Linked DNA regions of Homo sapiens: regions 2, 3, 4, 5, 6 and 7 are each linked to region 1. The links are contacts of gene promoters, found by promoter capture Hi-C in human tissues and cell types (Jung and others, 2019). All regions are on one chromosome and are shown on one strand. Each heading gives the region's core, a stretch centred on a gene start or on the middle of the fragment in contact. The rest is flanking DNA. Distances are from core to core; before and after follow the strand shown.

Region 1 (2,579 bases), core at 23-2,522:
AGAACAGCCCGGTTTTAGGAAAGGACTTCCCAGGGAGGTTTAGTAAGCCAGCTGGGAGAAAGGAAAAAAAACGTATTTTTAGGGAGGGATAGGGACGCTCCCATTGTGCAAGAAGGAAGTATAGCCGGTTAACAGCTCCATCAAGTTCTACTAGAAGGAGTGCCTATGTAAATGAAATTCTGCTTTTAAAGTGCCTATTATATAAAGGTCTCTAGAAAACTCAAGCCCTGTTCTACAAGCCCTAGCAGCCTGACAATTCACTAAGCATAGGAGAAGGGAAAAAAAAGTAGGAAAAAAGTGTGGAAGCCCCTTTCTTCCTTTGTAATATGAATGTTTGGCTATATTTAAGATAAATACCACATAAATAATTGCTAAACGTGAATTCTGTTTTTCTAAGTTTTAACAAAATATGCAAAGAACAAAGACCACCAATGAAAGTGGATGGGAACATACGTATTCTACACACAGTTCCATTTTGGAAGGTTCTAGGGCCTATTGAAATTGGGTGTTTAAAAAAAAAAGATAACACAGGAAAATTATTGTAGTTTACCTCTGTCTCCTACAAGCTGATGTATTTGGCAGGGTTACTATTTCCCAGGGCAAAGCAGGTCTTTTTTTTCACGTTTTGACTAACGAACTAGAGGCTACTGCAAAGAAAGAAGAAAAAGAACAGTATTAACGCATTTATTTGCACAGCACCCCAATCTTGACCCTCAATTTTTTCAATCGCCCCCACAAATAAAGCCCGGCTGTTTAGACCTGGTGAACCGCCAGGAGCCTGGAGCTCTTTGTATTAAGCAGCTTCTCGGTTAGGGCGCCCTCCCCCGGCGCCATGCAACCAAACGCTGGCGGCGCGCTGTAACCTAAGGCCCACACCCGTCTTTTCTTTTCTAGGGGATGTGGAGACGCTGGTAGCGGGGCCAGGAAGGCTCCGGACGGAGCAGGTTTTCTGGACCACAGACACACTGCCCCGGCGCCCTCCGCAGGCCGCTCCTCCCCAGGCCCATGACAGTGCCCCGCTGGTTTCTGCCGCGCTGCCGGACTGGAGCTCAGACGGCCTTCGCCAGCCCCCCCAACCCACGCAGATCCCTGCTGACCTGGGCAACTCCCCACCCTCGCTGAAGGTTCGAGGACCACCCCGCTTTCCCGAGAGGAGCCGGGCGGCGGGTACTTATCTCCGACCTCCGGCTAGTGGGAAAGGCCGCGCGACCGCCCGTCCTCCAACTACAGGGACCGCACGGTACGCGCCAAGCACAGCCCCAAAATGGACTCGCGGCTCCGGCTAGCTCCGCCCCCTTCCCTCTCCCGCTTCCCCTTCCCCTCCCGTCCCTTCCCCCTCCCCTCCCGTCCCTTCCCCCTCCCCTCCCGTCCCTTCCCCCCTCCCCCTCCCTTTCCCCTCCCCCTCCCCCTCCCTTTCCCCTCCCCCTCCCCCTCCCTTCCCCGTCGCCCGCCTCCGCCTGCACCTCCGGCCCCGCCTCCCCGTCCCGCTTCGCCTGTGTCCCGCCTCCCCGGCCGCGCCTCGCCTTGGCGGAGGGAGCCGGGTGGTGAGACCGCGTTCCTTCCGGCGTCTCCAACCGCCGCCTGCTCCCGCCGTCCACCCGCGCGGGCCGCCTGGGACGGGGAGGGCCGGGCTGCGGGCTTTTCTCCCTTCCAGAGTCCTGCGCCCGCCCAAAGCCCCCCCGCAGAGGCTGGGCAGCGGCTCCGGGAAGTGGACGCCGTTTGCCCAGACGGTGGGCTCGACTGAAGCGGCGCGGTCCCGGGTGGGGCCGCCCGGGAAGAAAGTCTCCCAGTTAAGCTGCCGTGCAATTAAGATGGTTGGGTTTGGATTGTTGTACTTTTTTTTTTGTTCGTTGCATTTTTAGGAACAAAAAAAAAAGCCCAACCCTTCACACCACTTCATCCGCATCTCAAGACCAGAAGCCGACCCCAGCGGCTTGGGGAAATGGAGCCCCGCACCCCACAAGGGGGAGGGTGGGACGGGCACCTCCGCACTGCGCGGCCTGCGGAGTCACCGATTCGCGTTGGGAGCGCGCCAGGAGCGCCAGGGCTCTAGCCGGGGGCTCCGGGCAAGGCGCAACCAGAAAAGGGTTCAGTATCCCCCATCACCCCCACCCCCAACCGTACCCTCTTTCTTTGCGGGCTTTAGGCAGGACACCAGAGACCCAATTCTATTTAAAATTCTCTTTTAAGAAAAGGAACGCCTGTTTTTGCCTTTGGGGGAAAGGATGAACTTTCAAATTGGCTTTAAATTATCCACCACTAACAGTTACTCAGTCGATAACCTGACTATTCTGACGTCCACCTCCCGTTTGAGGACCTTGCCCAATAGCAAACGTACTAAGCACTTAACCAGTGAACGGTGTGAAGGATGCAAACATGGATGATGAAGGAATGGCTCCTCCAGAATTTACGATCTTGGGAGAAGTGAGGCGAGTATAGAATCTCAGAACACGCTGTAGGATTGAGTTCGATCCCAGTTGAGGAAGTTTGGGTTTGGGGAGGAAATAGGTTATTTTGGAGAAACGGTATTCAAAACCTACCATAAATAGCAGTACAGCCCGTTGACTAATAATGCTTAG
Region 2 (2,579 bases), core at 50-2,549, 1.2 Mb before region 1:
GAAGCTGTTGAAATGAGGACTTTTCCAGCTTGTGCCATCAGGTTTTCTGCCTGGATCTCCAACCCCATTCCCATCTGGATTCTGGTAATTTTCCCCTCCCTGACCACGTGGTGACAGTTGTCCTTGTGTGAACAAGACCCCGCCTCTGAGGTCACCTGTGATGCCTGACCAGAGTCTCTTCCCCAGAAGTCAAGACTTGGAAGTAAGAAATGGTAACATCAGTTGAGATTGTCTTTGAATGGAAGAGATATAAATAGAAGAATGCGGTAGCCGTTTTCCATCTTGTCCACTTGGAAATATACTGAGAAAGGAAGTGTGCAGCGAGTGTGAGAGGTAAAGCAGAGCCTCAGATAAGAGTGGGGACCAGGAGCAGAGATTGAGAGAGGTGGGTCACTCTGAGGCCTGAGCCACTGTGGGATCACCCAGCATCCTCATCTGCAAATTACCCCTCCTGCTTAAACTGGCTGTAGTGGGTTTCCAGCGCTCATACTTGAAGAGTTCACACAAATACACCTGGACTGAGTAATTCAAGGAACAAAATTCATTGCATGAAGCAATTTTCTTGGAAGCCTTTCTTGAATCCCCTAAATTGGGTTAGGAGCTCCTCTCAAACACAGCTGCTTCCCTTTCCCCATGGACTTACTTGTATCTTAGCCCTAGTTATACTCTTCTTAAAAATATGTCTGTATTAAAAAAGTTATCTTTAAAACCCACAAGGAGTTTCCAAAATGTAGTTTTTTTGAGTTGCAATCTTTAAATGTTTAGGTCTTATTCATGTAGCTCCTGCATTATTTATTTATTTTAATAACAACATAATAGGCTTTAATATTTAGCTTATATTTATTCATTTTACATGAACTCCTTTTTAAATTGAGCATCATCCAGGAGATAGTTAAGAATTGAGGGTTTGAGGTATTAGATATATATTTCTAAACATACGTTAAACTGAATATGTACCTATTAAAAAGAAAAGATAAAACGTTCTACCTAAGATCATCTCACGTACCACTTTGGAAACTCCTGTCCTACCTTACCGGCCCCTTAAAAGCAGGACAGTGACTCATGCACAGCCTGCTTTCTACCCTTGGGCTCAGGGCCCAACATTTCCCCTTTATAGAACTTTTCACAAGAAACCGTCGAATGTGCAATTAGTTTACTTGTCTGACTTGCATGGAAGACCCTTCCATGCATTGTTTACTGCTTTATCCTCAGTGTCTTCAACGAGGTCTGGCACGTAGCTGAGGTTTAATACATATGCATTGGAAGAAATAATGCATGCATTGATAAATGAAAACCAGTTCCAGAATGTTCTACAGCCATGAATGTCAATACATGCTGCTTCTGACTGGTGGGGACACTTGAGGGTGAGCACTCTTGCTCAGTCTCTTACTTTTCTCGCTTGCTCCACTCTGGTGGTGACACTATCAGGTCAAACATGGAAAGTCTTTAGTCCTTAGTTCCATTGGCTGAAGCAGAACAGTCCTCCGACACTGTGATTCATACGCACCCTAACTGGGCATGTGCAGAGCCAGCTGTATAATTGTATAATTTAAACAGCCCAGTTCAAAATGAAAATGTGTGTTCAAAAAGCAGGAGTCCCTATGACTCAGCAATTCCACTTCCAAACATACCCAACAGAATCGAAAGCAGGGACTCAAAGAGATAGTTGCATACCGTGTTCATGGCAGCATTACTTACAATAGCCAAAAGGTGGAACTTAAATGTCCATCTACAGATGAATGGATAAACAAAATGTGACATAGACACACAATGGAATATTATTCAGCTTAAAAAAGGAAGGAAATTCTGACACATGCTACTCACGAAGAACCCCAAGGACATTATGCTGAGTGAAATAAGCCAGTCACAAAAACACAAAAGCTGTATGATTCACTTGTGTGACGTACCGGAGTTGTCAAATTCATAGAGATAGGAAGTAGAATGGTGGTTGTCAGGGGCTGGGGGTAGGGGAAAATGGGGAGTAATGGGTATCACATTTTAGTTTTGCAAGAAGAAAACAGTTTTGAAGATGGGTTGGGTCAGGCATGGTGGCTCAATCCTGTAATCTCAGCACTCTGGGAGGCCGAGGCGGTAGATTGCTTGAGCCCAGGAGTCTGAGACCCGCCTGGACAACATGGCGAAATCCTTTCTCTACTAAACATACAAAACTTAGCTAGGAATGCACCTGTAGTCCCAGCTATTTGGGAGGCTGAGGTGGGAGAATCACTTGAGCTCAGGAGACGGAGGTTGCAGTGAGCTGAGAGATTGCATCACTGCATTCCAGCCTGGGCGACAAAGCGAGATCCTGTCTCCAAAAAAAAAAAAAAAAAAAAAAAAAAGAAAAAAAACAGAAAGCAAGAAAATGGGTTGATAACAACGTGAATGTATTTAACACAACTGAGCAGTACACTTAAAATGGTTAAGAGAGTAATTTTATGTTACATAATTTTTACTACAATTTTTTTTAAAGTAGGAGAAAAGCTTTCTCTCTCACAGTCTCTATCTCTGTCTCTCTCTCTCTCTCTGTCATGTTTTTTTATTTGGTATTGAGTGTCACACTCCCTTGGGCACAAGCATAG
Region 3 (2,579 bases), core at 32-2,531, 1.1 Mb before region 1:
GCTGGTCTCAAACTCCTGGCCTCAAGCAATCCTCCCAGATCCTCCCATCTAGGCCTCCCAAAGCACTGGGATTATAGGCGTGAACCACTGTGCCCTGCCAAGGGGGTGAGGAATTAAGCAAAGGCTCGGAGGTCTGTGGCTGCCCAGGGAGTATCAGATCCATCTTAGCACCTTCTCTCATTCTCTCCACCTGGTCTCTCTCCAGGCTCCTGGCTGCTCTACTCAGCCTCAGTTGTAGCCGCAGCTGCACTGAGAACCTCTTGTACTCTCACAGTTCCACTGCCAGGCTGAGCAGCTGTGGGCAGTCTGGTTCCTCCCTCCTCTGACAGCCACAGGTGCAGCTCCAGAGCCGGCCCTGAAAACTGGCTCCCAAGAGGCCTCCCGAGGGTTCAAGAGGTTGGGTGAGCTTTGCCCAGGGCAGGCAAGGGGTGGGAGAGGAGGGCAGCGCCTTCAGTGCTCTGATGACTGCATGTGTACCTGGCATGGAGTCAGTCATTCACAAGGCCTAGGGCCTTTGGACTCTCAATCTTACCCCGCTGCGGCTGGTGGCTCCATCCAGGTCAGGAGGGAAGGCCGGGAGGTGTTACTGCAGGCAGACCAATCTCTGAGGCCATCAGACTTGTAACCTGATGTGCTGAAAGAGTTTCTTGTCCTCTTAAGGTGGCACCACAAAAGACCCCTTCCCTCTTTCTAGGTGGATTTGGTCCTGTTCATAAGAAAAGGGAGGCAAATACCCTAAGCAGTCACAGAAATTGCTCTGGGGTAGAGAATGTGCTCATATCCTCTCAGCTGGAGCTGGGCCCAGCAGGTTTTTGATGCTGGTGATCAAATTAACCTCAGACAGGAGGAATTTCCTGCCTTGCTTGTTTGTTTAATAAAAGAACAAGAATTGGAAAACAGTTAAGTTGGAGAAATGAGTATATGTTCATTCTTGCCTATTAACCATCATAAATCCCAAAGGATTTAGAGTTTGTAGGAAGATCACTGACTCTACACTCTGTAACGGCCCCTTTGCCGAGAGGTATCTGTCCACAGCAGTTGAGTATCAGATGGGATGGTGGCTCCCCAAACCACACCAAAACAGCTTGGTGTTAAGGCAAAGCCAAGTTCATTACATACCCCAGTAAAGGGGATTCTGAGACTGAGGAGTGCCTCAGAAAAGAGGGCAAATGTGGTGGTCATTGAATATGTTGAACCCTGAGTGAGTGAGTTTTTGATGTGGGGGTGGATTAGAATTGGGAAAGTTTGGGACATATTAGGGTCAGGGGACACAGGGAGGTGAGGATTTGGGCTAGATTGCTGCTATTTTTGGTCCTGAGAAGGCAGGTAAATGGACTTAGATTTTCAGGAAATTCTGCAAAGAAACCATAAATTACCTACAAGCTCACCTTCCCAAGGGAGTTTCTGGGAGCAGTGGTGTTGGTGGATGGTGGGTGGAAGGAACATGGTGTGAGCGTGCACAGGATGCTGCAGGTGTGCGGATGCCTGCTCTCCTGAGGGCTGGTGTAGAGGACCCCAGGAAGGCTTCCCTGGCTTTTGTCCCCTGTCCTCAAGATAGCTTCTGTCGTTTGTAAAACTCCATGTTGCTCAGCACAGGCCCTTTGGAGTCAGTTTCCAGATGTCTGGTATCACAGAGCCCCCTCTTCTGTCTCATTTTTCTCTTGGACACACGGTGGCACAGAGTTCGAGATGCAGGAGGCAAAAGGTTGACAGCCACTGGGGAGGCCCATGTGCATCAGACCTCAGTGCACACAGAACAGTGCTCAGACCAAGGGAAGGCACCCGGGCACCCACACCTTTCCTGGGGCCCATTGGGGCTGTGCTGCAGGCCAGGCTGACCCAGCCCCAGGGCTCCCAGAGTGTTTCTGAAATTGCCAACTTTAATTAAAAAATATATATTTAATAAATAAAAAAATTAAAAATAGTACATGTTCAGTAGAGAAAATTTTTTATAGTTTTTAAAATTGTGATAAAATATACATAACTAAAATTCACAATTTTAACCATCTTTAGGTGTAAAATGAGTGGCATTAAGTACATTCACAATGTTGTGCAAACATCACTTCCCACCTCTAGAACTTCCCCATTCCCTCAAACAGAAACTCTGTGCCTATTAAATAGCAACTCCCCGTCCTCCCCTCTCCCAGCTCTTGGTAACCACATTCTATTTCCCTTCTCTATGAATCTGACTACTCTAGGTGTTACTGGAAAGGGGTACCAATCCAGATCTCAAGAGAGGGTTCTTGGATCTTGTGCAAGAAAGAATTCACGGTGAGTCCGTATAGTAAAGTGAAAGTAAGTTTATTAAGAAAGTAGAGGAATAAAGGAATGGCTACTCCACAGACAGAGCAGCCCTGAAAGCTGCTGGTTGCCCATTTTTATGGTTATTTCTTGATTGTATGCCAAACAAGGGGTGGATTATTCATGCCTCCCCTTTGTAGACCATATAGTATAACTTCCTGATGTTGCCATGGCATTTGTAAACTGTCATGGCGCTGGTGAGGGTGTAGCAGTGAGGACGACCAGTGGTCACTCTCATCATCATCTTGGTTTTGGTTTGGGTTTTAGCCTGCTTCTTT
Region 4 (2,579 bases), core at 30-2,529, 1.1 Mb before region 1:
TAATTGTCTGTTCTTTTGCTTATCTATGCCACTAACTGTGAGCTCATTGAGCAGAGGCATTATATCTTATTTATCTTTTTAACTCCGACCTTTAGCACGGTTTTAGGCACATGGTAGATGCTCAGTAAACCAATTACCTGAGAAACTCCAATTGTAATTTAAGAAGAAAACTGTTATAAACTTTGATGGAAGATCTGGAAAAGTCATAGGTGTGTGGTTTTGATGCCTTTTCTTTTTTTTAGTGGAATAGAATATGGTTTGCGTATATTCATGTGGAATCATATCCTAATAATTAAAATAGCCATTATGTAATTGATTAGAGCCCACCATCAAAAACACACGCTATACATTTTTTTCTGATAATAAAGTTATATTTGCTTATAAGATGAAATTCATAACACACAGAAAAGTATAGGGAAGAAAATAAAAATATCTTAGAATCCTACCATCTAGATAGAGGTACTCACTGTATAATTTTTAGGTATATTTTCTTTTAGTCATATTTTCCTGTGTATTTGCACATATGTGCATTGGGGTTGTAAGATAAAATGAAGAATGCCTAGCAAAAATTAGAATTTTTTAGTATAAGGATGTCCCATGTAATATTTGGCATGTATTTATATGAAAAATTATTCATTGTTTATCTGAAATTAGTCTTCAACTGCCATGCTTTATTTTAATTTGTTAAACCTGGCAAACCTCATGTCCATATATGTATAAATGTACTAAATTTGGTTCATACCATATATACATCTTTGTATTCTTTTCTCAGTTAATGTTATATATTGTGAGTTCTTTTCCATCTCATTAACTACTTTTTGAAAACAAAAGCTTAAAAGGCAAATTTAACAACTCACCTTCTACAAACAATTGCTAAACGTTATAAATAAACACATTTTACTCTATGTCTGTAAGGCATTTTTTAGCAGAGATTCCTAAAGTGTGATTAATGGGTTGAAGGCCAAAGGTCATTATTTTTTAGGGATTCTTTTACGTATTACTTTCCAGAAACATTTTACCAATTTATGCTTTTCATCGACAGTGGGTTTCTAATAAGCTCTTCTATTTGCATTTTATCAGCATCAAGTACTGTCATTAATTTTAAAAGTTTGCCAATTTGATAGATAAATTGCAGTATCTTAAGGTACTTTTATTATTGCTTGCATAATGACCTTTGCAAAGGGTCATTGAAGAATGACCTTTTTTATCGTCATAAAAATGCATACTTCTTATTTAGTGGATTGTTCATTCATGTCTTCATACATTTTCTTTTGGCTGTATTAAAGTTTTGTTATTTATTTATAGGGACACTTCTTCTTATATTTTGTTACTTACAGGGATTTTTGAGGATATTAGCGCATTGTCTTCCATATATGTTAAAATATTTTCTCCAAGTTATTATACCTCTTTTCATTTATTTGACGTTTTCTGATGTGCAGATACTACTTATTTTTGTGTCTTCAATTTTTGTCTGTAATTTCTTCCGTTGCTTTCATGCTTAGAAAGTCCTTCCATGTTCCAAGGTCAATTGCATATTTGCCATATTATCCTTTTTTTAATAGTTCCGTTTTTCTTTTTTTTTAAAAAAAACCAATCCCTTTGTCTATCAGCAATTTATTTGGATATGTAGTAGGAACTGAGAACACAACTTGAATTTTCCCGAATAGCAAAGTTTTCCAACACTATTTATTGACAACTGGCATGTATATAAAAGTGTACATTCCTTCTCTTAGTGGATTGTGACATTTCACTTACTGTATGTGAAGATTTTACACTATGCTTTAAGTCTGTTAATTCAGTTCTATCAGTTAGGCTTCTAACAGTTTGATATATATGAGCAACATTTTATTAACTTAGTGTTTTGTTAAAGCCAAATGATCATTTACATGACATATAAGGCCAGGAGTTACAAGGGGCTAACAAAATAAGTAATGGCTTTAAGATTATAAAGCTGGGCCAGGTGAGGTGGCTCATCCCTATAATCCCAGCACTTTGGAAAACTGAGGTAGGAGGATTGCTTGAGGCCAGGAGTTCGAGGCCACTGTGAACGATGGTCACGGCACTGCACTCCAGCCTGAGTGACAGAGAGATATTCTGCCTCTAAACAAACAAAAACAAACATTATAAAGCTGGGGAAAAAGTAAGCCTAAAACTGTTAGTTGGATCCAGTGAGTCTACAACCTGTTACCAGAAACAAAAGATATGCAGCTGTTCTCCCAAAACTATTTTAATATTTAGTTATAATAGATAATACCATGGTTTAGTTATACTAGAGTTTCTGACAAACTTCTTATTTTTATCTCTTTGTGATAATTTTCTCAGCTCAGTTGTCTATTTCACTGATTTTTTTCTTCAGCCCTGGCAAGTTGACTATTTAGCTCATCTATTGAAAATTTGTATGTGGCTATGTGTGCCTATGTATTTAAATTTCAGTGATGATACTTTTTTCTAAGTTTTTTTCTTCCTAGTCTACAGTTCTTGTTTCATAAACTCCCATTCTTTTTCCATAAAACCCTGTTCAATTATGAGCATACATTTCCTTGGGTGCTGTAATATAAAAGAAATAGATAAGTATCACT
Region 5 (2,579 bases), core at 23-2,522, 1.1 Mb before region 1:
CTGAGAGCATTGCTGCCAAGACCGACCTTCCTGGTGCCCATTCTCAGACACAGAGCCCAAAGTGTCTCTAACAGGACACTGTGTTCCTCTCACCACTGTTCGCCTTTGCAGAGAGAATGAGTTTCCTGTTGCTGCTGTAATAAATTACCACAGACTTAAAGGCTTAAAACAATATATATTTATGCTTTTACAGTCTGGAAGTCAGAAGAACCAAAATCAGTTTCACCAGGTTAGGTCAAGATGTTGGCAGGGCTGTGTTCCTTCTGGAAGCTTTAGAGGAGAATCCATTTCCTTGCTTTTTTCAGCTTTCAGGGGCTTCCTGCATTCCTTGGCTGGTGACCCCATCCTTGCATCACTCCAACCTATTGATTCCATCATCATGTCTCCACCTGCTCAGTCTGTGCTCCTGCTTCCCATTTATAAGGATTTTTTTTTTTTTTTTTGAGACAGAGTTTTGCTCTTGTTGCCCAGGCTGGAGTGCAATGGGCACGATCTTGGCTCACCGCAGCCTCTGCCTCCTGGGTTCAAGTGATTCTCTTGCCTCAGCCTCCTGAGTAGCTGGGATTACAGGCATGTGCCACCATGCCTGGCTAATTTTGTATTTTTAGTAGAGACGGGGTTTCCCCATGTTGGTCAGGCTGGTCTCGAACTCCTGACCTCAGGTGATCTGCCCACCTTGGCCTCCCAAAGTGCTGGGATTACAGGTGTGAGCCTACGTGCCCGGCCCATTTATAAGGATCTTTGTGATTACATCACTCTCACCTGAGCAATCTCTCCATCTCCAAATCCTTAATTTAATCAAATCTGCAAAATATCTTTTGCCATATAAAATGACATTCACAGGTTCTGGGGATTAGGATGGAAACATCTTTGGGAAGCCATTATCTAGCCAACCATACAGCATCACAAGATGTTCTAGTCCTAACAGACCCAGCCCAATTCCCTTTTAAGCTTCATTATAAAAGCCCAATATTGGGAGGAGCCAAGATGGCCGAATAGGAACAGCTCCGGTCTACAGCTCCCAGCGTGAGCGACGCAGAAGACGGGTGATTTCTGCATTTCCATCTGAGGTACCGGGTTCATCTCACTAGGGAGTGCCAGACAGTGGGCGCAGGTCAGTGGGTGTGTGCACCGTGTGCGAGCCGAAGCAGGGCGAGGCATTGCCTCACTCGGGAAGCACAAGGGGTCAGGGAGTTCCCTTTCCGAGTCAAAGAAAGGGGTGACGGACGGCACCTGGAAAATCGGGTCACTCCCACCCGAATACTGTGCTTTTCCGACGGGCTTAAAAAACGGTGCACCACCAGATTATATCCTGCACCTGGCTCGGAGGGTGCTACGCCCACGGAGTCTCGCTGATTGCTAGCACAGCAGTCTGAGATCAAACTGCAAGGCGGCAGCGAGGCTGGGGGAGGGGCGCCCGCCATTGCCCAGGCTTGCTTAGGTAAACAAAGCAGCCGGGAAGCTCCAACTGGGTGGAGCCCACCACAGCTCAAGGAGGCCTGCCTGCCTCTGTAGGCTCCACCTCTGGGGGCAGGGCACAGACAAACAAAAAGGCAGCAGTAACCTCTGCAGACTTAAATGTCCCTGTCTGACAGCTTTGAAGAGAGCAGTGGTTCTCCCAGTACTCAGCTGGAGATCTGAGAACGGGCAGACTGCCTCCTCGAGTGGGTCCCTGACCCCTGACCCCCGAGCAGCCTAACTGGGAGGCACCCCCCCAGCAGGGGCACACTGACACCTCACAGGGCAGGGTACTCCAACAGACCTGCAGCTGAGGGTCCTGTCTGTTAAAGGAAAACTAACAAACAGAAAGGACATCCACACCAAAAAACCATCTGTATATCACCATCATCAAAGACCAAAAGTAGATAAAACCACAAAGATGGGGAAAAAACAGAACAGAAAAACTGGAAACTCTAAAAAGCAGAGCGCCTCTCCTCCTCCAAAGGAACGCAGTTCCTCACCAGCAACGGAACAAAGCTGGATGGAGAACGACTTTGACGAGCTGAGAGAAGAAGGCTTCAGACGATCAAATTACTCTGAGCTACAGGAGGACATTCAAACCAAAGGCAAAGAAGTTGAAAACTTTGAAAAAATTTTAGAAGAATGTATAACTAGAATAACCAATACAGAGAAGTGCTTAAAGGAGCTGATGGAGCTGAAAACCAAGGCTCGAGAACTATGTGAAGAATGCAGAAGCCTCAGGAGCCGATGCGATCAACTGGAAGAAAGGGTATCAGCGATGGAAGATGAAGTGAATGAAATGAAGTGAGAAGAGAAGTTTAGAGAAAAAAGAATAAAAAGAAATGAGCAAAGCCTCCAAGAAATATGGGACTATGTGAAAAGACCAAATCTACGTCTGATTGGTGTACCTGAAAGTGACAGGGAGAATGGAACCAAGTTGGAAAACACTCTGCAGGATATTGTCCAGGAGAACTTCCCCAATCTAGCAAGGCAGGCCAACGTTCAGATTCAGGAAATACAGAGAACACCACAAAGATACTCCTCGAGAAGAGCAACTCCAAGACACATAATTGTCAGATTCACCAAAGTTGAAATGAAGGAAAAAATGTTAAGGGCAG
Region 6 (2,579 bases), core at 59-2,558, 1.1 Mb before region 1:
CCAGAGAAATATGTCTGGGAATAGAGAACCCAGCAGGGTACATCCTGCGCTTGTGTCATTAGGTTTTATCTCTTTCATCTTGAAGTTTCAATTATCTGCTTAACTGGGTCTCAGGATGTTTGTATACAGAGCACTAGACATCTATACGATTGCATTGGAAATGCATCTTTAAGCCAAAAATAAAGCCAATCTAAGAAGTCCACCAGCTATGAAAATTGCATCATATTAGAATTTACTAAAAAGAAAAAAGAAAAAAAAACTAGTGCAGAAAACTCAGCTTTTAAAGGAGAAATTAAGGTGAGATTATTGGCTGTGCAAAAGGATTTGCTTAGGCCACATTTAAATAACAAATTCCCTAATGCTTTTAGAGTAGAATTTCAGCTGAGAAAGAAAAAACCCATCAATTCCTACAGAAATTTTAAGAAGAAATGATTAGGTAAAATGAAGCATGTTTCCAGACCTTATGACATAAATTTTATCTTAACATGAAATAGGAAACAGATGTTTCTCCTCCTTTGCTTGCAGTATTTTCCTCTCTTATAGTCTAGATTTGTAGATTTCTAATTATAAATCACTCTTTTTTTTTTTTTTTTTAAGAGACAGGGTCTCACTCTGTCACTCAGGCTGGAGTACAGTGGTACGATCATAGCTCACTGCAGTCTCAAACCCTTGAGCTTAAGTGATCCTTCCACCTCAGCCACCAGAGTAGCTGGGACTACAGGAATGCACCACCATGTCCAGCTAATTTAAAAAAAAAATTTTTTTTTTTAGAGACAAAATCTCTCTATGTTGCCCAGTCTGTTTGTGAACTCCTGGCCTCAAGAGATCCTCCTGCCTCAGCCTCCCAAAGTGCTGGGATTACAGGTGTGAACCACCGTGCCTGGCCTAAATTGCTTGTTTATAATCTTTTGGTTAAAACCTTTATTGAAATTTAACAATGAGAAGGAACTAATGGATTAGGAAGAGTAAGGCCTTTGGAATCAGATAAACCTTTACATTTTGCCTGGATCACTTACTTGCTGTTTGACTTGGGCAAATGTATTTATTCAACAAGTATTTAGCTTCTAGAATGTGCTGAACAAAGTTTCAGGCACTGGGAATAGAGGCAAAAGGAATAGGCAAGTGCTGTGTTCCCTGGGAATGTATTCCAATGGGGAGGACAGTAAACAGGCAAATAAACAAATAAATCTCAGGTTGTGCAAAGAGCTAAATTTAGAGTATTTAGTGGTGACTGGGCAGAGAAGATGCCAGTTGCCCTGAGCTGGTTAGAGAAAACCTCTTGGCAAAGGTAATGTTTGAACTGAAAGGAAGGAAGGAGTCAGCCTCAAGACAGAGAAGTTATATGTGTTCCAGAGAAAATGGCAAGTGCAAAGGTCCTGAGGTCAGACTGAACTCAGTGAAGAAAAAAATCTAACATGCTTGGAATATCATATGTGAGGAGTCTGATAGGAGATGAAGGTGGAGAGGGTTTTAGGGATCAGGACATATAAATGTGTAGAAGATGAGAAGGAGCTGAACTTTTCTTCTAATGACAATGGGTTACTGAAGTTTCTGAGCTTTGGTGTGGTCACTTGTGAATGGAGATAATCATGGTGCTCACCTCATCCACTTGTGAGCATAGGTGAGGTGGCTAACATCCCCTTGGCACTTTGTTTGCAGAACTTAGTCCAGGATTTTACTTCCAAGGATCAGCAATCCACTATGTAAGCTAATGTTTAAAGGAGTTACTATAAAGATTCAGAAGACTCTAACAGAACTCAATTGCAGGAAGTACAGATAAATCTCAGAGGAAACAGAAAGTCAGCAGGTCTGTTTCCAACTCTGCATCTCCCTTCACGTTTACTCTATTTTCCTGGTTATCTCTTCTCTCTGAAAGTCTTTTGATTTCTGTTCCTTTTTTTTTTTTCTGTCACCCAGGCTGGAGTGCAGTGGCATGTTCATAGGTCAGTGCAGCCTCAAATCCTGGGCTCAAGTGATCCTCCTGCCTCAGCCTCCTGAGTAGCTAGGATAAGAGGCACATGGCACTGTGCCTGGTTATCTTATTTTATTTTTTGGTGAGACAGGCTTTTGCTTTGTTGCCCAGGCTGGTCTCAAACTCCTGACTTTAAGTGATCCTCTTGCCTCAGCCTCTCAAAGTGCTGGGATTACAGGTATATGCCACCATGATTGGACTTAATTTCTGTTTCTTCCAAGCTTTTCTATATGCCCTTTGGATTCAAGAGATCACCATCATCAGACTGGCTCAGTTTCTCAGTGCCTCAATTGCAGATGCCTGAGAAAGAGGGTTTGATGGTCTTTGGTCTGGAGTCCATATGTATCCCATTCAGATGGACTTTGGAGGGTGGGGTCTCTAAGAAGAGGTAATGGGTAGAGCCATCAGGACTGACGTATATTCTCCATTGTATAAATAAATACATGAAAACGGAATGAATGATTGGATGATTCATGTGTGTATGAATGGAAGATGAATAAATGAATGAGAGGTGGATGGATGACTACCAAGCCCAACCAACCCATTTAGGAGAGAGGTGGGTGGGATTACATGGCTTCTCTCTATGTCATGGGTTCTTAACCAAAGG
Region 7 (2,579 bases), core at 38-2,537, 1.0 Mb before region 1:
CTGCACTGGTCTGGGGTTTGGTGTGGATGAGTGTGGGGTCAGAATAAAAGCTGAAAGGGAATTGGAAGTATTTTAGGAATTCTAGTTTTTAGAAATTCTTTTTACAATGCTCAGTGCTAAGATGGCACTCTGGTGCCCTTGAGGGGCACCTAGATGTCAGGTGTTTTCATAGAGTGTAGTTCTCCTACTCCTAAATTCAGCAGAAAATCGAATCTAAACAATGTGTTATCTCATATATAGCATCACATGACTACCCCAGGAGCTTCGTCTTTTCTGGGATTTGTTTCCACCAAAAGCAGAAAGGCCTTTTGGCTCTCTCATGGTTGTTTCCTGAGTCCTTTTCTTTCTCACCTCCTCCCTCATGCTCCTCATACCCTTAGCAAAGAATCAATTACCAGCTTTAGTATAGTCCCTTTGTCTATATATGGAAAATGAAAAAAAGTGTAGTGACATGTTTAGTGCATGAAGGAATCCCTCTGAATACCTATTTTTTTTTCCCTGACAGGTAGAAACAATAGGAGATGCTTATATGGTGGTAGGAGGTGTACCAGTGCCTATTGGAAACCATGCTCAAAGAGTGGCTAATTTTGCCTTGGGGATGAGAATTTCTGCAAAGGAAGTGACGAATCCTGTTACTGGAGAACCCATCCAGGTAGAGAGCAACTGAGTACTTGGCTTAATGCCAAACATCTCACACACAAAAGTAGAATTCTGCTTATGTGCTTAGGTGATTACTGGGTAAGTTGCTGTCATTAAAATGGGTAATGTATCCTAGCCCTTTTCTTCTCTTGCATATGTCCCTAATAGAGATATTCCTAAGGCTCCTATAGTCTCAACTTTTCTCAAATTTCAGAGGAGGCTGCGGTGCTCAAGGTTTTCCTACGATTGACTGCAAGCTTCCTTTGTTGGTAATTCAGGACAGTGCTGAGCAGTTCTTCCTATTTACCTAGCAGGGCTCAATCCATCTTAAACACCAGCTCATTTATAATTCCTGCTTTTATGTTCAAGCATTTCAACAAGTGGTTCAGGTTTAATGAGCAGCCAACTTTTCCTGCTTAGGAAATTGTGTCTCCAACATGCCATCTGACAGGTTCAGAACTCAGGCTGAGGTGTGAGGCTGCCTGCAGTCAGCAGGCCAGGCACCGTGATGCCGTAAGATATTCAGAATGGCTTTCCTTCCACCAAGTGGCCACTAGCGAGACATCTGCTCGCCTTTCTCACAGAAAAGTACGCTTCCAAGTCTGGAAGTTTGTTCACACTCTAAAAGTTGAACAGTTTTGGAGGTGAAAAATGAATGTCCTCCTCCGCTGGCTCAGCAGATCCTAATGCTCCTGGGATGGCTGAGAGTGGCGTCTCTCTGCCTTTGATTTCTAGGTCCTTCCTCTGCTAATATCAGTCAGAAATTTAAAATAAACTAGTCAATTCAAAATAAACAAAGCCAATTATAAGATGGAATATGATTTTTCCACATTATAACTTTTTACAGGAGATTCTGAAAATCTGCTGCACTCACTCTGACCATGGTGAGTTAGAAGCTGAGAAACAGTGCAGATCATGGCTACAGCATCCACTGTAGTCTTCTAAGTAAAAGCTGGCCTTAGATAGTCACAAGAACAAGATAGCTGCCATAATGACTCATTGTAAACACAGTGTGCATCAGTGGAATAAAAATCCAATGTAATAAATAAAAAATCAGGATGAGAGGCAATGAGGGAAGAGATATAAGAAGGTTAGATAAGAGATAAATGTTTCAGTTAAAGGATGCTTGTGTAAGTCACTGGTGAAAAATAAAAATAAAAATGGAAAGCATAGTGTGCGTGTGTGTGTGTGTGCGTGTGTGTGTGTGTGCATGTGTGTATGAAAGGGGCATAGCGCCAGAGATGAAAATAATGCTACACCAATAAGAATGAAATTAGACAATGAATTGTTGGAAACTCTCAAGGTGGATTTACCAAGAAAAAAATAGGAAAGGATGTTAGCAATTCCAAGGTAAGACTATGGACATAATTAGGAGCATCATTAAATATCCACCAGAAACAGCATATCATATGGGTTTATTCAAGGATGTAGGGGAGAGAACTGGAAACACTTTCTCTCTTAACAGAATTGTGCAATTATTTTGCACTGAGATATTCTATTATTTTATTCATATAGCTTTAATATACATTTACTGAGATCCATCCATGTATGAGACAGTATTACTAGGTGCTTTGAAGGGTTCAGAGAATCCTGTTTTCCTAGAGAAATTATAATTTTATTTCAAGCAGAAGAAAATCTAGCAAGTAAAAACAACAAGCAATCTGATTAGGATGTAGAAAGCTGTAAGAGACTGTTGTTCCCATGCTAGCAGTTTTTTTTCCCCCACCAGAAAGCAAAGGAATCAAAATAAACTAAATTCCAGGAAGTGACAAACCTTTCAAAGAGAAGACACCCATAATTGCATTCAATCCTGGCAGGGCAGCAGAAGAAGTAATCCACCAGAGGTGAGGGTAGGGATAATCCCGTCTAAATTTTAGTGGACTTTTAATGGTCACAGGGCTGAAACAACAGGTTAGAATGCCAAAGAGTCCCAGCCACAG

What was found. Contacts are between HindIII fragments. The study calls those that stand out against the background at their distance.
Region 2: a fragment that was not itself captured here is called in contact with the fragment with the promoter of TRIM13 in region 1 in 1 of the 25 tissues and cell types used here (dorsolateral prefrontal cortex).
Region 3: a contact is called between a fragment that was not itself captured here and the fragment with the promoter of TRIM13 in region 1, in 1 of the 25 tissues and cell types used here (dorsolateral prefrontal cortex).
Region 4: a fragment that was not itself captured here is called in contact with the fragment with the promoter of TRIM13 in region 1 in 1 of the 25 tissues and cell types used here (lymphoblastoid cells).
Region 5: a contact is called between a fragment that was not itself captured here and the fragment with the promoter of TRIM13 in region 1, in 2 of the 25 tissues and cell types used here (hippocampus and lymphoblastoid cells).
Region 6: a fragment that was not itself captured here is called in contact with the fragment with the promoter of TRIM13 in region 1 in 3 of the 25 tissues and cell types used here (IMR-90 fibroblasts, dorsolateral prefrontal cortex and lymphoblastoid cells).
Region 7: a fragment that was not itself captured here is called in contact with the fragment with the promoter of TRIM13 in region 1 in 1 of the 25 tissues and cell types used here (lymphoblastoid cells).

What each region holds. Positions count from the first base shown.
Region 1 is chr13:49,995,735-49,998,313 of GRCh38, reverse strand. TRIM13 (tripartite motif containing 13) reads right to left here and starts at 1,272. Exons shown (of 2, transcript NM_213590.3): 1 at 551-1,272. It overlaps DLEU2 (deleted in lymphocytic leukemia 2), which reads left to right. Exons shown (of 14, transcript NR_152566.1): 11 at 895-1,240. It overlaps MIR3613 (microRNA 3613), which reads left to right and starts at 1,813; the gene lies at 1,813-1,899. RefSeq lists silencers at 1,536-1,665, 2,256-2,305 and an enhancer at 1,846-1,975. The HindIII fragment of the contact is 11,924 bases long and covers 1-2,579 here.
Region 2 is chr13:51,153,391-51,155,969 of GRCh38, reverse strand. It overlaps a transcript of C13orf42 not described here. Among named protein-coding and RNA genes, the nearest start is that of C13orf42, 43 kb to the right of the region's middle. The HindIII fragment of the contact is 5,773 bases long and covers 1-2,579 here.
Region 3 is chr13:51,132,879-51,135,457 of GRCh38, reverse strand. It overlaps a transcript of C13orf42 not described here. Among named protein-coding and RNA genes, the nearest start is that of C13orf42, 23 kb to the right of the region's middle. The HindIII fragment of the contact is 6,780 bases long and covers 1-2,579 here.
Region 4 is chr13:51,099,175-51,101,753 of GRCh38, reverse strand. All of the region lies in intron 1 of C13orf42 (chromosome 13 open reading frame 42), which reads left to right. Among named protein-coding and RNA genes, the nearest start is that of C13orf42, 11 kb to the left of the region's middle. The HindIII fragment of the contact is 4,613 bases long and covers 1-2,579 here.
Region 5 is chr13:51,079,242-51,081,820 of GRCh38, reverse strand. No RefSeq gene overlaps it. Among named protein-coding and RNA genes, the nearest start is that of C13orf42, 31 kb to the left of the region's middle. The HindIII fragment of the contact is 3,142 bases long and covers 1-2,579 here.
Region 6 is chr13:51,056,003-51,058,581 of GRCh38, reverse strand. It overlaps the pseudogene GUCY1B2. Among named protein-coding and RNA genes, the nearest start is that of C13orf42, 54 kb to the left of the region's middle. The HindIII fragment of the contact is 8,118 bases long and covers 1-2,579 here.
Region 7 is chr13:51,014,254-51,016,832 of GRCh38, reverse strand. It overlaps the pseudogene GUCY1B2. Among named protein-coding and RNA genes, the nearest start is that of C13orf42, 96 kb to the left of the region's middle. The HindIII fragment of the contact is 6,465 bases long and covers 1-2,579 here.